Linked DNA regions of Homo sapiens: regions 2 and 3 are each linked to region 1. The links are contacts of gene promoters, found by promoter capture Hi-C in human tissues and cell types (Jung and others, 2019). All regions are on one chromosome and are shown on one strand. The core of a region is centred on a gene start or on the middle of the fragment in contact, and the rest is flanking DNA. Distances in the headings are between cores, read along the strand shown. Region 1 holds the start of RHBDL2 (rhomboid like 2). Region 2 overlaps RHBDL2 (rhomboid like 2). Region 3 has its middle 14 kb from the start of AKIRIN1.

Evidence for each region. The method cuts DNA at HindIII sites, captures the fragments that hold promoters and counts their contacts. A contact is called where the count stands out against the background at its distance.
Region 2: a fragment that was not itself captured here is called in contact with the fragment with the promoter of RHBDL2 in region 1 in 2 of the 25 tissues and cell types used here (neural progenitor cells and spleen).
Region 3: a fragment that was not itself captured here is called in contact with the fragment with the promoter of RHBDL2 in region 1 in 1 of the 25 tissues and cell types used here (aorta).

Annotation. Positions count from the first base shown.
Region 1 is chr1:38,940,172-38,943,255 of GRCh38, forward strand. RHBDL2 (rhomboid like 2) reads right to left here and starts at 1,659. Exons shown (of 8, transcript NM_017821.5): 1 at 1,511-1,659. The HindIII fragment of the contact is 22,458 bases long and covers 1-3,084 here.
Region 2 is chr1:38,895,576-38,898,659 of GRCh38, forward strand. RHBDL2 (rhomboid like 2) reads right to left here. Exons shown (of 8, transcript NM_017821.5): 5 at 394-494. Among named protein-coding and RNA genes, the nearest start is that of GJA9-MYCBP, 15 kb to the left of the region's middle. The HindIII fragment of the contact is 8,075 bases long and covers 1-3,084 here.
Region 3 is chr1:38,975,620-38,978,703 of GRCh38, forward strand. No RefSeq gene overlaps it. Among named protein-coding and RNA genes, the nearest start is that of AKIRIN1, 14 kb to the right of the region's middle. The HindIII fragment of the contact is 9,927 bases long and covers 1-3,084 here.

The DNA of each region.
Region 1 (3,084 bases), core at 409-2,908:
ATGATTAAATAAGAGAATGCATTTAAAAGCCCTTAGCCTGCATCCATAGTTTAGGAATTGGTGGTTCCCATCACTTGCTCAGTGTTGAGTGTGCAAATTCAGAAACACAGCATGTCTGGACTCAGCCCTGGTCCAGTATTTTTACCACAAACCAGCACCTGACACCTTCCCTAATCCCATGCCTATGTGGCTCTCCCTTCTTTTTTATTTTATTTTTTAAAGACAAGGCCTCACTTTATTGCCCAGGCTGGTCTCGAACTCCTGGACTCAAGGAATCCTCCCGCCTCGGCCTCCCAAATCACTGGGAGCGAGCCATGGAACCCAACCTTCCCTCTCCCTTCACCACTCCACCCGTCACTGGCCAGTTCTGTTTACACGCTGCCTACGTGCTTTCAAGGCCAGGGGTTGTCTAGCATATCTTTACAAGCCTAAGGTGAGGGAGTTGCTGGTTAGGGAGAGGCATGGCAAGAAGGCAGTCAAAGAGGAAGGGAAAAGCACAGGTGTTTAGGAAGGCTCCACAATGAGCCTGGCACCCAGCTTGGTATTCAACATGCATTGTTCCCTGTCATCTTCATAAAAATATCATTTTGAGCTGGCCGCCGTGCCTCAGTTAACTCAGGAAGCTGAGGCAAGAAGACTGCTTGAGCACAGGAGTTTGAAGTTGTAGTAAGCTATGATCAGCCACTGCACTGCAGCCTGGGCAAGGTAGCAAGACCCTGTCTCTTTAAAAAAAAATTATAGCTGAGGAAACTGAGGCTCAGGAGGTAAACAGGAGATATGGGATAAAAAGCCAAGTGTCTTTGTGACTCCAAAATAATTTTCTGCTCTGCCATGCTGCCCACCAGCTTGTAGATGACCATCAAATGTTTGAGCAATAAGTTTCAGTTTTCTTATTCCCAAGAGGAGCAGAAATTGCGCAGCCCTCCCTCCAGAGAATCCAGGTATATGCTCAAACAGTGATGAATAAACAAATGAACACTAATGAATAAATGAAAGATTGAGTGAAATCTCTCTGATACCCACACCAGGAAGAAGGAAACAAATAACTCTGGAGGAGCCGCCTTGCGGGTAGAAGTGGAGACTGTCTCCCTGGCTGTGGTCTCCAGTGTCCAGGTCAGCAAAGGGCTAGGAACTGGCTTAGTTGGAGTTAGAAAAACTTAGGAGGGTAGGGGGTGCTGGGGAGAACGTGATGGCTGGAGGGAAAGCCAGTGTGAAGGGCAGGGAAGAGGAATGGAATTACTCTGTCCTCATCCTCAGCCCTTCCCTGCCATTTCCCTCGGGAAGATAGCCCCTGACTCCTGGCCCAACATGCTGCCAACTTTTAAAATGAAAGTAGCAGGATCCAAAGCGGCCACACCAGGAGGTCACTCCAGAAGGGGGGTTACCAGCGAAGCACCCCACATGTCCCTCCTCCTTCCTGCACAGCACCCCTCGGCCCTGCACTTCCTGCTGCCGCCCCCTTGTCCTGACATAGGACTCCCTCCACTCCCTCCCAGCTCCCACATCTTACCCTGAAAGACCAAGGTAGGGGCGTCCCAGCCCACGCCCTCCGGTCCTTGCGTTCCAGGCTTCCTGGGCCAAGGGGTTGCCCGCTGCCCTGAAGATCCCGCTCTGCCAGGCGCTCCTCCGTCCCTCCCCAAACAAAAATCCTCCAGACAGGTTCCAAAGCTGCCCAGCCCAGGAGGAGGGAGGCTGAGGAAATCCCCTCCCAGCTGGGCTGGGCCGGCCTGCTTGGCAGTCTTGCTCCTGGGCTGGCCCTGGATGAATGAGTCCTCCTCTTCGCCTGCTTGGGTCTTAGCCAGGGAGCCGGTGGCAGCCTCTGCTCTTTCTCCAGGACACTGAGCTCCATTCCTCCTCCAAGTCCTGCCCTCCTGCTTCATGCCTGGGTCCCCTGCTCTCCACTCTCAGCTCTCTGACGCCTCAACCGGGTGGTCTCTATCACTCTGCATTTGGTTATGCTCCAGTCTGAAGCCAGGCCTGTACTGGGCACCAGGGTGGGTGACTTGACGATCCTCAGCAGAGATTTAGTCCACAGAAGAATTGGTGACACCATGGCCCCTGGTGAAATAGCTTTGCCAGCTCTGATTATTCATTCAAAGCATTTTGAGAATAACTGGCCTTGTGTGAGGCCCTGAGGATGAAGAGGTAGATTAACGGGGTCCCTGACCTCCTACTCTACTAGGAAGACAAAGAATGAAGCTCTAAGTAGACGCTGCTCAAGATTCAGGCAGAAGGTGGCCAGGCATGGTGTCTCACGCCTGTAATCCCAGCACTTTGGGAGGTTGAGGTGGGTGGATCACCTGAAGTCGGGAGTTCGAGACCAGCCTGATCAACATGGAGAAACCTCATCTCTACTAAAAATACAAAATTAGCTGGGCATGGTGGTGCATGCCTGTAATCCCAGCCACTCGGGAGGCTGAGGCAGGAGAATCGCTTGAACCCGGGAGGCGGAGGTTGCAGTGAGCCAAGATCACGCCATTGCACTCCAGCCTGGGCAACAACAGCGAAACTCGGTCTCAAAAAAAAAAAAAAAAAAAAATTCAGGCAGAAGGGACCAGAGAGGAATCCCCCTGTGTGGAAGTGTTCTGGAAAAGCTCCTAGATGACATGACATACAAGATGGGTTTTGAAAGGTGAACAGGGGTTTTCCAGAATTGTAAGCGGGGAGCACACAGAAGGGGAGCACAGGCTGACAGAAAAGGCCATGGGAAGGGACGGAATTCAGCAGGAACTACTCAAAGTTCAGAATTGTGAGCAGGGAGTGTCAGATCATGAAGGGCCTTGTGTGCCTTGGTAAACAGTTTGGACTGTGTCCTATAGGTTCTGGGGAGTCATAGAAAGATTGTTTGTTTGTTTGTTCGTTTGTTTGTTGCAATACAGGGTCTCTCTGGGAGGCAGAGGTTGCAGTGAGCCGAGATTGCGCCACTGCACTCTAGCCTGGGCAACAGAGTGAGACTCCATCTCAAAAAAAAAGAAAAAAGAAAAAATAGGATCTCTCTCAGTTACCCAGGCTAGAGTGCAGTGGTGCACTCATAGCTTGAAGCAGCCTTGAACTCCTGGACTCAAGTGATCCTCCCACTTCAGC
Region 2 (3,084 bases), core at 189-2,688, 45 kb before region 1:
GGCAGATCGCTTGAGCCTAGGAGTTCGAGACCAGCCTGGGCAACATGGCGAAACCCTGGCTCTACAAACAATAAAAACATTAGTCAGGCATGGTGGCCCACACCTGTAGTCCCAGCTATTTAGGAGGCTGAGGTGGGAGGATTGCTTGAGCCCAGGAGGCAGAAGTGCAGTGAGCCATTATCACACCACTGCATTCCAGCCTGGGCAATGGTGCAAGACTCTGTCTCAAAAAAAAAGAAAGAAAAGAAAGGAAACAAAATGGCATTGCCATACAATTCTCAGAAAATTGAGTGCTCAGTAAATATTGATAAATGAAGGTTCGTTGAAACAAAGAAGAGTTACTGTTTTCTGTTTTTTTAAGAGACTCGTGGACTCCATCCCCATGGTTCTTACCACCAGAACATTCATAAAATAGCCTCCCATCAGAGCATAGACTCCTCCTGAAGCTCCCACAAGATATCTGAGTGGGTCAAAGATGGAGCTGGCAAGGGACCCTAAAGAAATAAAACACAAAGGATCAGACATGACTATACGGATCAGGAAAGATAAATCTTTCTAATCTAAGGTAGACATTTGGGAAGTCTGGTCTATTATCACATTAGCAAGCAACAAATCTATTTTGCCCCTTTCATACCATAGAAGCATAGCTGTATATGCTAACTACCACAGTGTTTCTGAAAACATGGAATGTTCATTAGAACAGCAACATAGCAGTGACAATGGCAGAATCGTCTGGAGCCAGAATTACCAGCAGTGTGACTTGAGGAAGTTAGTTGACTTCTCTATGTCTCAGTTTCCCTACCTGCAAAATGGGGCTATTAATAGAACTTACCTTAATGGATTGTCAGGGTAAATAATGAGTTGATGTGTGTTTTGTGCTTAGAATACTGCTTGATGTGTATTATATATTTGTTAGCTATTAGGTTGGTGCAAAAGTAATTGCGGTTTTGCCATTACTTTTAAGGGCAAAAACTGCAATTATTTTTGCATCAACCTAATATTATTGCAAAATATCCTATGTTCAGTCAAAATACCTGAGACAATCCAACATTTTATTATCTAATAGCTATCTTTCTCAATGAGCCATAATGTGCCCTCAGAATCCTTCTCAACATACGATCCAATCAGATTCCCCAAGCAAGATGAATCCTAATTGCTAACCTAATCCTAGATTTACTGGACCAAAACAAGGCTTTGCAAACCACCTTATGCAAAGACTAAAATATTCTCTCTATACTGCTTAGTTCTATTACTTGGTCTATTCCTTTCAAGGTCTTCTTTCATTTCCTTAGTGTATGATACAAAACAATACAGTACCTATTTTGTGCAAGAAAAAGTGTCTGTCCTCAGTAATTTTACAAAGAGATGAGCAAACAACTATTATAAAGTACAGAATATAACAACTACTATGACAAAAATAAATTTATTGTAGAAGCACTTAGGAAGGAGTGATTTTCTCAGCAGAAGGGTGGAGTCCTTGCTACTCTGAGGAGGAGGAGATAGCATTTTCATTAAACTTTGAAGAATCTTTTTTTTTTTTTTTGAGATGGAGTCCCACTCTGTCGCCCAGGCTGGAGTGCAGTGGCGTGATCTCAGCTCACTGCAAGCTCTGCCTCCCAGGTTCATGCTATTCTCCTGCCTCAGCCTCCCGAGCAGCTGGGACTACAGGCGCCCGCCACCACGCCTGGCTAATTTTTTGTGTTTTTAGTAGAGACGGGGTTTCACCATGTTAGCCAGGATGGTCTCGATCTCCTGACCTCGTGATCTGCCCACCTCGGCCTCCCAAAGTGCTGGGATTACAGGCGTGAGCCATTGCGCCCGGCCTAAACTTTGAAGAATCTTTAAGATTGGCCAGACACTGTGGTTCACTCCTATAATCTCAGTGCTTTGGGAGTCCCAGGCAGGAGATTGCTTGAGGCCAGAAAGTCAGGAGTCTGAGACCAACCCGGGCCACAGAGTGATATCCGTCTCCAAAAATATAAGAAAAATATTAGCCAAGCATGGTGGTACCCGCCTGTGGTCCTTGCTACTCAAGAGGCTGAGCCAATAGGATCACTTGAGCCCAGGAGTTTGAGGCTGCAGTGAGCTATCATCGTGCCACTGCGCTCCAGTCTGGGTGACAGAGGAAGACCTCTCCCCTCACCCCCACACACAAAAGGATTGGATAAGAAAAACAAAAGAGAAGAAGGTATTCAGGACTTAGAGAACTGGAAAAGCAATGGCATACAAACAGGTATATGGATGACTGAAGATCAGTGAGAAGTAGTCCAGTAGGCCGGGCACGGTGGCTCACGCCTGTAATCCCAGCACTTTGGGAGGCCATGGCAGGTGGATCAGCTGAGCTCAGGAGTTCGAGACCAGCCTGGGCAACATGGCGAAACCCCATCTCCACTAAAAATACAAAAATTAGCCGGGCATGGTGGCAGACACCTGTAATCCCAGCTATTTGGGAGGCTGAGGCAGGAGAATAGCTTGAACCCTGGAGGTGGAGGTTGCAGTGAGCTGAGATGGCGCCACTGCACCCCAGCCTGGGCAACAAGAGTGAGACTCTGTCTCAAAAAAATTGAAAAAAAATAAAATTAGCTGGCTGTGGTGGCACATGCCTATAATTCCAACTACTGGGGAGTCTGAGGCACGAGGATCACTTGAACCTGGGAGGCAGAGGTTGCAGGGAGCTGAGATCGCACCACTGCACTCCAGCCTGGTGACAGAATGAGACTCTGTCTCAAAAAACAAAGAAGTAGTCCAGAGCAACTTAGAGCAATGATTCTCAAATGCTAACCTATAGACTAGGGCTGGGGTGATTATATCATAATCATATGAGAAATTTATTTTTAAAATAGATACAAATGTCTACTTCTGACCATGATAAGGTCACAAGAATAGGATTTGCTGTCTCACTTGAAAAAGCCAAAAGCACTGGACAACATATAGGAAAGAATGGTCTTCAAGATACTAGACATCAGAAAACAAAACCAGTAAACCCTTAGAGACAGGGAATCAGTTATTAATAGATGAGTTATCTGATTGCCCAGGTACTACCTTGAGGGAGATTACAGAATACAGCGCATGAAGCAGGAACCC
Region 3 (3,084 bases), core at 231-2,730, 35 kb after region 1:
TGGCACAATCTCAGCTCACTGCAACCTCTGCCTCCCAGATTCAAGGGATTCTCCTGCCTCAGCCTCCCGAGTAGCTGGCATTACAGACATGCCACCACGCCCGGCTAATTTTTGTATTTTTTGGTAGAGACAGGGTTTCACCCTGTTGGCCAGGCTGGTCTCAAACTCCTGACCTCAAGTGATCCACCCGCCTTGGCCTCCCAAAGTGCTGGGATTACGGGCGTGAGCCACTGTGCCCAGCCTCTAGATTTTCTATTCTTTTCCAGTATTCTATTCCTATGCCAATATTATACTAATTTGATTAAAGTAGGTTTGTGGATGTTCTGGTATCTGGTTAAGCAAGTAGTTCCCCTTCACTGTACTCCATGTTCATACTTTCCTAGTTTATTCTAGGGTATAAATTCTTCCATATGGATTTAAGGTTATTTTAATGATTTCTTAAAAACTGCCTGCCTGGCCAGGTGCGGTGGCTCACGCTTGTAATCCCAGCACTTTGGTAAGCCGAGGCAGGTGGATCACTTGAGATCAGGAGTTCAAGGTCAGGAGTTCGAGACCAGCCTAGCCAACATGGAGAAACCCCATCTCTACTAAAAATACAAAAATTAGCTGGGCATGGTGGTGGATGCCTGTAATCCCAGCTACTTGGGAGGCTGAGGCAGGAGAATTGCTTGAACAGAGGCAGAGGTTGCAGTGAGCCGAGATTGCACCACTGCACTCCAGCCTAGGTGACAAACCGAGACTCCGTCTCAAACAAACAAACAAAAAACCTGCCTGCCAGAATTCTAATTGGAATTGCATTAAATATAAGTATTTTTAAATATTTTTGTTGTTACAACGTTAAGTTTTCTTATCCAAGAACAAATAACTTTCTACTTGTCTAGCTTTGAACTTTATGTTGTTCAGTAACATTTTTATTATATTCTTCATATACATCCTGTGACTTTGTTCAGCTTATTTATAGGTATTTGAAAAAACTTTTTACCAGGCATGGTGGCTAACACTTGTAATCCCAGCACTTTGGGGGCTGCTGAGGCAGGAGGATTGCTTGAGGCCAGGAGTTGGAGACCAGCCTGGGCAACATAGCCAGATCCTGTCTCTACAGTTTTGTCTTATTTTTTTGTTTTGTTTTTATTTATTTATTTTGGCTCTGTCAGCCAGACTGGAGTGCAGTGGCGAGATCTCAGCTTACTGCAACCTGCCTCCTGGTCTCAAGTGATCCTCCCACCTCAGCCTCCCAAGTAGCTAGCACTATAGGCTCATGCCACTACGCCTGGCTTATTTTTGTATTTTTTGTAGAGATAAAGTTTCACCATGTTGCCCAGGCTCCCGGGCTCAAGTGATTCAGCCACCTCGGCCTCCCAAAGTGTTGGGATTACAGGCATGAGCAAAAAAAAAAGTTGTTTTAATTAGCCAGTCATGGTGACATTTGCCTGTAGTCTCAGCTACTCAGGAGGCTGAGGTGGGAGGAAAACTTGAGCTCCGCAGTTCAAGGCTTCAGGGAGTCAAGATTGCACCACAGCACTCCAGGCTGGGTGAGAGAGGGAGGCCGTCTCTACAAAAAAAAATTTTTTTTTTGAGACGGAGTCTCGCTCTAGGCTGGAGTGCAGTAGCACGATCTCAGCTCACTGCAACCTCCGCCTCTTGGGTTCAAGTGATTCTCCTGCCTCAGCCTCCCGAGTAGCTGGGACTACCAGCACGTGCCACCACGCCCAGCTAATTTTTGTATTTTTAGTAGAGACAGGGTTTCACCATGTTGGCCAGGATGGTCTTGGTCTCTTGACCTCGTGATCCACCCACCTCAGTCTCCCAAAGTGCTGGGATTACAGGCATGAGCCACCATGCCTGGCCTATGAAAAATTTTTTAGGATAAAAAATTTAAAAATCTTTTTTTAGAGACAGAGTCTCACTGTGTTACCAGGCTGGCCTTGAACTTCTATGCTCAAACAATCCTGCATCCGCTTCCTAAGTAGCTGGGACTACAGGAAGTCCCACCACACCGGGCCCTGGGTATTTTATATTATTGAGAATTTTTTTTTTTTTTTTTTTTTTTTTTTTTTTTAGTGACAGGTGTGTCTGGAATTGGTTCCTTCCGGTGGGTTTGTGGTCTTGCTGACTTCAGGAGTGAAGCCACAGACCCTCCCGGTGAGTGTTACAGCCCTTAAAGGTGGCATGTCCGCAGTTGTTTGTTCCTCCCGGTGGGTTTGTGGTCTCACTGACTTCAGGAGTGAAGCTGCAGACCTTCGCAATGAGTGTTACAGCTCTTAAAGGTGGTGCTCCTCCTCAAAGAGTGAGGAGCAGCAAGATTTATTGTGAAGAGTGAAAGAACAAAGCTTCCACAGTGTGGAAGGGGACCCGAGTGGGTTGCGGCTGCCATCTTGGGTGGCAGCTTTTAGTCCCTTATTTGGCCCCACCCACATCCTGCTGATCAGTCCATTCTACAGAGTGCTAATTGGTCCATTTTATGGCGTGCTGATTGGTCCATTTTTAGAGAGTGCTGATTGGTGCATTTACAAATCTTTAGCTAGACACAGAGTGCTGATAGGTGCGTTTTTACATAGTGCTGATTGGTGCATTTACAAACCTTTAGCTAGACACAGAGCACTGACTGGTGTGTTTACAATCCTGTAGCTAGACAGAAAAGTTCTCCAAGTCCCCACCCGACCCAGAAGCCCAGCTGGCTTCACCTCTCAATCCCCCCTTTAAACAGGATACCCCAACTACTGTTGGGAATTGGGCGATGACCGTTCTAGCTACTTCCTGCTGGATAGGGGCAAAGAAGGGGCCCTGCAGTTGTAGTGTCCTCCAGAGGGGAATGCTTTAGGCCAAAGGGCCAGTGGATCGGTCCAGCGGTCCTTGATAGAAGTTGTTAGTTGAGCTCATTTGGGGTTCTATTTGTAAGACCATCTGTAGCTTGATGGCCTCGATCCTAGAGGAAACAAATTTGACAAGGAGGTTAAAAATACAGGGCCCGAAGGCAAGTAATAGCAAGACGGCTGTCACGGGACATAGAGAGGGGAGAAGCCAGGTTGCCCAACTCCAGAGGTTGGTATAAGAGTTTGAAAGGCATCGTCTGATTTCAGAAGA